Linked DNA regions of Homo sapiens: region 1 is linked to region 2. Evidence: promoter capture Hi-C in 16 types of primary human blood cells and fetal thymus (Javierre and others, 2016). All regions are on one chromosome and are shown on one strand. Each heading gives the region's core, a stretch centred on a gene start or on the middle of the fragment in contact. The rest is flanking DNA. Distances are from core to core; before and after follow the strand shown. Region 1 has its middle 53 kb from the start of CDCA2. Region 2 holds the start of PPP2R2A (protein phosphatase 2 regulatory subunit Balpha).

Region 1 (4,846 bases), core at 1,371-3,870, 780 kb before region 2:
CTTTGTTTTATTTCTCAAAAAGTGCTAATGAGAATGAGGGAAACATTTCCAATCTGTGATTTGGGCATGGTTTTTCAAATGTGAAATGTTCTCTTTTTCTAGCAGCAGTTAAAAATGTAAACACACCGTTAGTTTCAAAATGTTTCATTATAAACATTTTGTTGACATTTGTCAATAACAAATAGGCATTTTTCCTAAAAAAAAAAAAAAAAATCTGAAAAATCAAAGCAAGTTAGATGCAGTTTTATCTACCAGGTCTCATTTGTACAAGATGTGTAAAACATTAATAATTTCTGTATTTGGTCATTCTTGTTTTTTGTTTTGTTTTGTTTTTTGTTGTTGTTGTTTTCCCATTTGTTTTCATTCATGGTTAAATCAAAAGCTTGGCTTCAAAATGGTTTTTTTTCCTGCCATGTTTTTTCGTTGCAGTAACTAACCCTTGTTCTTCCATCATGTTTCTGTTCCTGTAGATTCTTGTTTGTTCCAGAAGATGGCAGCACAACCTCTGAAGTTTTTCCTTCTCTGTGCATAACCTAATGGCTGTTGCCTGTGTGGCCCCCTATTTTTACTTTTTTCTTACATAAGTAGTATGTATCAATTGAAAAACACAGAACTGTACGGAATTTAAAAGTGGAAATATGGCATCTATCTTCCTTGCATTCCACGCAGGTGTCATCCAGCCACACCCTCCTCTCTGCAGCTCTCTCTGCAAGCACTTAACACCTGGCATGCACCTTCCAGACCTTTCTTGTATAAACATGCATGCATCGTTTTGTTGTTTTCTAACAGGATCACTATATGTGCCATTCTACCACTTGGTTTTTTTAATTCAACAAAATGCCATGAGTATCCTTTAGTCTTTTTATGGACAGCCCTAGTGCTGCTACTTCAGTCTTTTTTAACCCCTTCATATACCTTGAACATCTGTAATGAAGGTGGTCATCTCCTTACTAATGGATGAATGTCAGTTATCTCCAGCTTTTGCAATTATAGCAGTAAATGTAGCAAATACAAAGCCATATTGGGCTTGTTGAAAATATCTGTAAGATAAATTCCTTGAAATTAAAATGATTACGTTCTCTTCTGTGGATCTTAGCTGGCACATTCCCCTTACACACATTTTGGCATCCTTGCCTTCTTTCTGCCTCTCATTTTCTGTTCCTACTACTTAATGCCATTTTGCTTCCATCTTCTGTCACTACTGCCTCTACTTCCACTTAAGCTGCAGAATTGAGGGTGGGCCTTAGACCTGGTATGTGGAGGAGAGAATGATTAATTATACCTGGTTCATGCTTTAGATTGAAAGAGCTACCTTTCAAAGTCAAGTTTATTGAGGTATAATTAACCTACGGTGAAGTTCGCGTTTTTAAAGCATCCAGAATTTTGGCAAATTTATACAGCCATGTAACCAGTGCCACAATCAAGTAATAGGACATTTCTGTCACCCCAAAATTCCTCCCACCTCTTTGTAGTCAATTTTCTACCTGCCAACCCCGGGTCTTCACAACTGCTCATCTGATTTCTAGTGTTACAGTTCTGTCTTCTCCAGAATGTCATACAAATGAGATCATATAATATATACCCCTTTGTGTCTTTAGCTTAGCGTAATGCTTTTGAGATTCACCCATGCTTGCATGCTGTAAGTAGTTGATACTTGTTTATTGCTGATACTTGTTTATTCCATTTTATAGATGTACCAAAACTTGTTTATCAGTTTACCACTTGATGGATATTTCGATTATTTCTGGTTTGGGGCTAATGTGAATAAAGCTGCTGTAACAATTCACATATGGATCATTTTTTATAGTCACATGTTTTCATTTATCTTGCATAAATATCTAGTGGTAGGGTTCCTGGGCTGTATGGTGGTAGTATTAATATATGTTTACCTTTTTAGGAAACTGCTAAACTTTTCCATAGTGGCTGCATGATTTTGCATTTCCACTGGCAACACGTTTTGTTTGTTCCACATCTTCACCAGCCTCTGGTATTGTTAGCCTTTTTTCATTGTAGCCATTCTAGGATGTGTGCAGTAGTTTCTCATGGGTTTTGATTTATTTCTCTAATGACTAATGATATTGAACATCTTTCCTATGCTTATTTGCCATCTTTATATCTTCCTTGTTGTGATGTCTATCCAAATTTCTTGCCCACGTTTGTTGTTGCTGTTATTGTCTTACTGTTATTGAGTTAAAAGAATCTGTACATTTGGATACACATCCTTTATTGGATATGTCTCTTAAAATATTTTTTCCCATTCTGTGGCTTGTCTTTTTATTTGCTTAGCAGTGTCTTTTGAAGAACAGATTTTCATTTTGATGAAGTCCAGTTTACCTTGTTTTTACTTTAATGGTTCATGCTTTTTGTGTCCTAGCTAAGAAATCTTTGTCTAACTCAAAGGCACAAAGATTTTCTCCTGTGTATTCTTCCAGTTCTATAGTTTTAGCTCTCACTTAAGTGTTAGATCCACATTAATTTTCTTGTGTGAGATGAAGGTGGGTTATTTATTTTTAATGGAAATCATTCAACACCATTTGTTGAAAAGATTAACCATTTCTCATTGAATTACATTGGCACCTCTGTTAAAATTATTTGACCTTATATGTGTAGATCTATTTCTGGACATTATTCTGTTCATCTGTATGTCTATTCTTCTACCAATATACCACTGTGACTATATAAGAAAGTTTTGGATTTTTTAAAATCATAGTTTAGGGGTTTTTTTGGAGGGTAGAGAGGAGGCCAGAAGAAGCAAAAGGTTGACCAGCCACATCTGTCTGGGGCCTTCAGTTATTCCCAGACTTGTAGTACCATTTGGGTGCAAGAAGTGAAGCCAGCAATGACAGGCTATCAGAGACACAACAAGGAAACCAACTTCTCTGGGTGCCTCTGCGTTCAGCCTAGTCCTCTGGAAACTAGTTTACTATGGTTTATGATTTAAAATTTGACCCTAAGTTACTAAAAGATTCAGTCATCAAGAAGTAATTCTCTCTCTGGACACTACTCTGTATAGCAGTAAGAAAATAAGGTGAATTAAAATAAGATTCAAAATTCAATTTGCTAAAAAATTACCTAATAAGCATGACTCATTTATTTTCATAAATTGAAGTTTGTATTATAGTTTGATTTAGTGTAAAACTTAGCCAGGCATGGTGGCTTACACTTGTAATCCCAGCACTTTGGGAGGCCAAGGCAGGAGGATTACTCGAGCCCAGGAGTTTGAGACCAGCCTGGGCAACACGATAAGACCCTTCCTCTACAAAAAAAAAAAAAATTTAAATTAGCTGGGCATGGTTGGTTTCAGCTACTCTGGAGGCTGAGGTAGGGAGGATCGTTTGAGCCCAGGAAGTTGAGGCTACAGTGAGCCATGTTCGTGCCACTGCACTCCAGCCTGAGTGACAGCGAGACCCTTTCTCAAATAAATAATAAATGTCACTGTCCTTACTCAGTAACCTTAGCATTTGAGGATTGTTTCCTAATGTAGGAAAATTTTCCTGCACCAGCTCATTCTAGGTAGGCAGATTATGGACTCATTAATAAAATAATTTGCCAGCCATTTATTCAACAACTACTATGTGCCAGGCATTAATTTCTAAATAAAATTGCTTTCAAGATGCTCAGTTTTCTTTCTGTAAGGGGACAAAATTACAATACAGGGTATGATAAAAAAGAGATACCCCAACCTGTCAGCCCTCCAGGGGGTATCAACCTTCAGATCACGCAAGTTTAGTTTCTTTCCAGAATAAGTGATGCTTGAGCCAAATTCACTAATAGGAGTTTTAGAGGAATGGGGACCCAAAAGGCACATCCCATTCCAAATCTCCTTTGATTATTATTCAATAATTTCATTATTCATTAAACTGAGACTAGGTGATACAGGCTGGCTTCATCTCATGTTTTTCTTTTAAGTATTTTTTAACTTTCATTAAATTCTAACCTATAAATACATCTGGAAAAGCATGGATTTGAAACTAGACTACAAGTTGTGAATTGTACCTAAAATTTTAAAGAAACCTGCTCTGTTCTCAATTGCTTAGGCATTTCTGTCTCATACTATTGGGTGTCTTTGTAGTGTGTCTAAAGGGTTTCACTGTGGGTTTGGAGTCCTAGACCAAGTGAGTGGAATTGGGATTAAATTACAGCAAATAATTGTACATCCCCCTTTTGGGGTGTCTTAAATTTATTTGAAGATTATTGCATAGCCTTGATTTAGCTCTAGAATGGGTTAATTACTAACATACTATGGCCTAATAGTTTCAAGTTTGTCTAATATTGTGCAGGTGTGTTCATTTTTGCATATTCTTTGATGCTTTTCTGTTTATGAAATTGTGTTACAGACTGCGAGTAACATAGCTTAAATGAGAAGATAAGTAATTACTGCCTTTCAACTGATACATATTTCTGTTCCACATCTTCAACCAAGATCATACTTAGCCTGATTTTGATATGACCTTAAAGATTTATTAGAAAGGTTTTTAGAAATTTCTAGGCAATTGAGAAGCAAATATTTTCTGAAACTGCTTTTAATTTTTTGATACTTTGTAAGCGTTATATCTCTTACATGAAAAGAGAAAATAAATAAGCATTTACATTAAAGAAGAATACAGGTTTGCATTTTCTAAAGGGTAAGTTGGGATTTCATCACAAAATTTCCGGTGACCACCTGGAAAGCTGACTAAGTCTTTTTCTCATTTATCCTAGGCATACAAATTGACTATCTTGATTTATGTTCTGTGATAATAAGTTGCCTTCAGGGATGCAAACAGCTAACATTTTGGTTTTAGATGTAATTGAAGAAATGTCAAATTATCTTAAGTTTTTGAAGTTCCAAATTCTTAAGTGTATG
Region 2 (5,218 bases), core at 1,172-3,671:
CCTCTGAAAGGGCTGACCAGGGCCCAAAAAGAGCCAGGTCGTTTACACCAGGGTGCCAGGGTGCACTGGCCCTTGATTATCAGACCCAAGTCAGCCCATTCCACAGGCATGCAGTACCCCCAAGGCTCCAAATAATGTTCTTAAAACAGCACCTGGCACAAAGTCGGTGCTATATACATTTTTGTTATAATTATCCCAGTTTCTAGGCAAGCTTTATTGGCTTCTAAGAACAAATCATTTATGTAAACCAAATCATTTTCAGGGTATGTAAAGTCTATATTCTCTTTTTCTGTCTTCCTTTCTCTCTCTCTCCTTCCTTCTGGGTTCTGGTTAAGATGGAGAGCTCTCCCTGGAGAGTCTGGGATTGAACCACCAAAGAAGGGCAGAGCAAGCAAAAAGGAAAATAAATGAAGGCATACCCAGAGAAATACATTTATGAAAAACACCAGCATTGAAGAAAATACAGCACGCAGTGCACTGAAGTTTTGTACCTGTTGTACAGGTAGCCAAAAGATGACACATAGAGGGTGGATTTTTAGTTTTGATTAATTCATTGGTAACGTGGGAAATATTCATGCAGAAACAGAGGAATGATCATGCAGTGGTGCAGTTGTTCCTTTGAAGGAATTTTGAACGTTGCATTACAGTTCAACTGTCCTGGAAATCAAAAATATGGTAGAAAGTGGAGATGGTGGGGAGGACGTGTAAATATCTTTAACTCCCCCTTCTTGGTTTCCAAACGCCTTTATCACTCCATTCAGCCTTAGGCCAAATTCTGGATGCTTTTACAGGTGTTTTTCACGTGTAAAATGTGCATATCTATCTCCTAGGAGTATCGTGGAGATGGAATGGGATATGTAAAGTGTGCTGTATATAGCAACTGCATCATTAGAGCATCTTTCAACAGAAGTGCACATCCCCTCATAGCTGATGACTGGCATTTCCTGTTCATTTTTTTCCTTCTACCTCTTAACCTTACTGACGATGCTTTCAATACAAATCTAATAATAACGGCAGCTAACATTTATCATGTGCTCAAATTAAGTCATTTCATCTCCCCAACAATCCTATCAGGTAGGACTGTCATCTTCATCTCCTGAGCCTTGGAATCATATTAGGCAGCCTGGCTTCAGAGCCCAGCACTTTTTGTGTTTTTGTTTTTGTTTTGACAGGATCGCATTCTGTCTCCCAGGCTGGAGTGCAGTGATGTGATCACATAGCTCACTGCAGCCTTGACCTACTGGGCTCAAGCAGTCCTCCTACTGCAGCCTTCTAGTAGCTGGGACTATAGGCACGCCATCATACCTGGCTAATTTAAAAAAAAAAATTTTTTTTGGAGAGATGGGTCTCCCTATGTTCTCCAGGCCGAACTCGGAACTCCTGGCCTCAAGCGATCCTCCCACCTCGGCTTCCCAAAGTGCTGGGACTACAGGCGTGAGCCACCGCGCCCGGCCCTGAGCCCAGCTCTTAAGCACGCAGTCCAACACGTTTAGCTGGAGAGACGCCGGGTCACTTCTTGGGCCATACCCTCTCATCACAAACTCAGGTTTCTCTTAGAAATCACTCTTAGTGTCCGCAGTGCCTAGGACTCCCGCCTTGGATCCTGGGGCCCACGAGAAGGTAATTTAATTCACCCAGATAGAACCAGCCCAATCGTGTCCCTCTGAACCCCGTGAACTTTCACCCCGGCTGAGCAGTAAGTCTGCACCGCTGTCCCTTTCTTTGTGGTCTCAGGGCTAATCCAAAGTGACAATTTCCTAAGAAGCAGTACGGGGTTTTTTGTTTGTTTGTTTTTTGTTTTTGAGACGGAGTCTTGCTCTGTCACCCAGGCTGGAGTGCAGTGGTGCGATCTCGGCTCACTGCAACCTCTGCCTCCCGGGTTCAAGCAATTCTCACACCTCAGCCTCCCAAGTAGCTAGGATTACAGGCGCACACCACCACGCCTGGCTAATTTTTGTATATTTTTAAGTAGAGACGGGGTTTCACCATGTTGGCCAGGCTGGTCTCGAACTCCTGACCTTGTGATCCGCCCGCCTCAGCCTCCCAAAGTGCTGGGATTACAGGCATGAGCCACCGTGCCCGGCCCAGGTATTCCTAGAAGACATAGGACCCCATGAATCCTTGCAGGAGAGCACGTAAACTGGACTCCTAAGCCCGCCCCAGAGCCCCGGCGCTAGTGCTCGAGGCTGGGACACTGCTAGGTGCACACAGCCGCGGCCTGGCGCAGGCGGTGCGGACAGAGGGTATGCCATGGCGAGACGCTGGCGCGGCGCAGGCCCTGCCGGCCGGGACACGGAGGGCGGGGCACAGGCGCAGCAGGAAGGGGGCGTGGCCAAGAGCCGCCCGGCCGCTCCCCCGCCCCTCCCCCTCCGCTCTCCGCCCCAGCCCGGCGGCTCCGCCCCCTAGGTGACGTCACTGGCCAGGCCAGCCGGCGCCATTTTGAAAGTGGAGTCGCCTGCCCCTGCCGCTGCCGCCGCCGCCGTCGCTGTCGTAGTCGCCGCCGCCGCTGCCGGAGAAAGAGCACGAGCGGGGAAGCCCCAGAGTGAAATCTAGCATCCTGCCGGCTGGTCTGCCCGCCCCTCCTTCCTTTTCCCCCCGGCCCCCGTCCCCTCCCCCCGCAGGTGCCATCCGCCGCCATCCGCCCTCTCTACCCCCCCATCCCCAGGTGAGGGGGGTGAGTTCAGGAAGCGGAGACCCCGAGGAACCCAGCAGGGTCACCATTTGCAGCGCAACATGGCAGGTAAAGGAGAAATCCCCCTCGCCCCCTGACAAGGCACCGCTTCCTTATTCCTCCCTCCATCACCCCCTAGCGACCGCCCGCGCCTCGCGCAGAGCCACAGGGCGCCCCTCGGGTTTGAGGGAGTAGGGTCCAGAGGGGTGGGGTGGGGGCGGGGAGGGCTCCCGGGAGGCAAGTGGTCACGGTGAGAGTCACTGGGCTTGGAGAACGGGGCTGGCGCCGTGGCGGGGGTGGGGGTGGGGTGTGCCGGCGAGCTTGGGGTGAGGCGTGGGTGGGGCGGGGTGGGGGTGCGTGCAGATTTGTCCCTCCCGCTCGGGAGCCTGGTGGATCTTCTCCCACCTCCCCACCTTGCCCCCCGCCTTTATTTTTTTTTCCTGCAGGTCTTCATTTAATTTCTATTTTTCCCCCTGCTGCAAGCCTTCTTGGGTGTATATACACATTTATTTTGCCTCGAGAAGGAAGAGCGCCTTATAAGTTAAAATACAGTGGGGGCATATGTGTATTTTTTCCCCACTGTAGATGCCAATATTTTTGAGACTGGAAGCCTAAATTTTTTGTTTCGAACCATTTCGTTTCCGTTTCTTCCCTTTTACCGCCGAAGAGTGCAAGGCCTTTCATGTACAGCAAGTTGCATGAAAATAATTTAAACTTTGCGTTTAGCATGTTAGCTTTTTTGCAGATGTCCTTTTCCCAAAAGGGTTTGGTAGAGTTAGTTAAAATAGTTGCGGAGTTCAGAGATATAAATAGCAAGGAGGAGAGAGATTTAGGTAGAAGCTTTGAAGGGGAGGGGAAAGGATGTAGAGAGAAAACCAGTTTGGAAATAAATTTAGCAAGGAATAGGGGTGATGGGGGAGAGAGAAGTAATGTAATTGCTTTGAGAATTCTTTTTGTACATGTTGGTATTGCTAAATCTTTTCCTTCATGTAGTAGAATCAGTTGCAGATTTAGATTCAGTTTCTTTCTCCCTAGAGCCCCAGGACATTTTCAATCATTTCGACCTCAGTACTTGCACGTGAAATAGAAACATTCCGAGATGAGACCAGTTTTCCGTGCTGTATTCATTATTTAGATAATTAAACCTTTTGAAAAAGTTAACATGTCGGATTGACTTACGGTTTGCTATAAACAAGTTGCTTGTTGGCCTTGTTGAAAAATGAAATGAGATTAAAATTGTTTTGCACGAGATGACATTAGCAAAATGAATTCTTTGCCAGGTCCTTTGGAGTCAAGGGATGAGGTGAAGGGAGGCAGAACAAGCTTCCTTTGACAGTCTCTTTAGCAGCATTCATTTCGGTTTCTTTTCCTCTCTGTCTGGAGCCAGTGATTTGCTGGTAATGAATGCAAAGAAATGGGTGTAGTGTTTGCTGTGTGTGCACTTTGGTGATAAGGTTCATATGAATCATTACTCCTTACCCAGGCAGTAATGTTCCCGAAGTTTTCTCTTCGTTCTATGTTTCATGGTAGTTTAACCTTATTAACTCTTCTGCAGGCTTTTTGTACACTTAAGAAAACTCTTTAACTCTTGGTATTTACTTTTTTTCTGGTAGGTCTTGCCTGAATGTAAGGCTTTTACTGTATTTGACAGGAAGTTTGTGAACAGATGTTTAATGACCACAGAACATGTGCCTTTAAATATTTCGTACCTGGAATCTTTTTTTTCTTTCTAATGCAGTACCAAGTATTGGGGACTAACCTCTTTCCAAACTGGTGCTCTTGGTGGTAGTTGTATGTGTGGGCAGAACTAGGCTGTTAGTATCATGCCAACCATGGATACCATCTTTGTGTTTACGAGAGTCAACATAAGCAGAACTCGGTTTTAATTGGTATGTTTTCTTTTTCCAGGAGCTGGAGGAGGGAATGATATTCAGTGGTGTTTTTCTCAGGTGAAAGGAGCAGTAGATGATGATGTAGCAGAAGGTAAGAAAGCGTTTAATGCAAAATTTGGATATATAATTTTTGCAGAAATGTTTCCTACTGGAGGATTTCCTTGAAGCCGAGACTGCTATAAATTCAAGATGATTTTGTTGTCCAAGAAATGTAAGAACAGTTTTAAAAGATACCTTTCTGAAAAACAGCCTTAAATTTCATTTGTTATTTACGCCTTGTTTTTATTATTTTTTCCTCTGAATTTACATGGAAGGAGCGGTAGATGATGAGACATATAAGATCCTCACATGAAAGCTCTGAGCTCCATATAAGGGTTTCTTTGTTATGTAAATTCCACATACAAATAAATGGTGATGCATTTTTATGTTTGTACATTGGTTTTAGATAAGTAAATTGAAATAGGTGCCATCAACATTTGGCTCAGAAACATTCTTAACGGCATCTTTGATTTTTATGGGAAGATTTTTTAACTACTTTTGAATTTGTCCACTTTGGGAGTGTGATGCTGCTTGGCATATTCTGTGAAGAGATGATAGCTCAGATTATTCATTTTGTTGTCTTTCTGGTATTTAGGTGGATAAGACAGTAACAATG

Evidence for each region. Contacts are between HindIII fragments. The CHiCAGO score rates a contact against its expected background, and 5 or more counts as called.
Region 1: a contact is called between a fragment that was not itself captured here and the fragment with the promoter of PPP2R2A in region 2, in 4 of 17 cell types (total B cells, megakaryocytes, naive B cells and 1 more). The highest score is 7.2, in total B cells.

The regions. Positions count from the first base shown.
Region 1 is chr8:25,509,523-25,514,368 of GRCh38, forward strand. No RefSeq gene overlaps it. Among named protein-coding and RNA genes, the nearest start is that of CDCA2, 53 kb to the left of the region's middle. The HindIII fragment of the contact is 4,480 bases long and covers 381-4,846 here.
Region 2 is chr8:26,289,087-26,294,304 of GRCh38, forward strand. It overlaps PPP2R2A (protein phosphatase 2 regulatory subunit Balpha), which reads left to right and starts at 2,422. Exons shown (of 10, transcript NM_002717.4): 1 at 2,422-2,740; 2 at 4,580-4,654. The coding sequence starts at 2,734. RefSeq lists a silencer at 2,224-2,573. The HindIII fragment of the contact is 3,300 bases long and covers 210-3,509 here.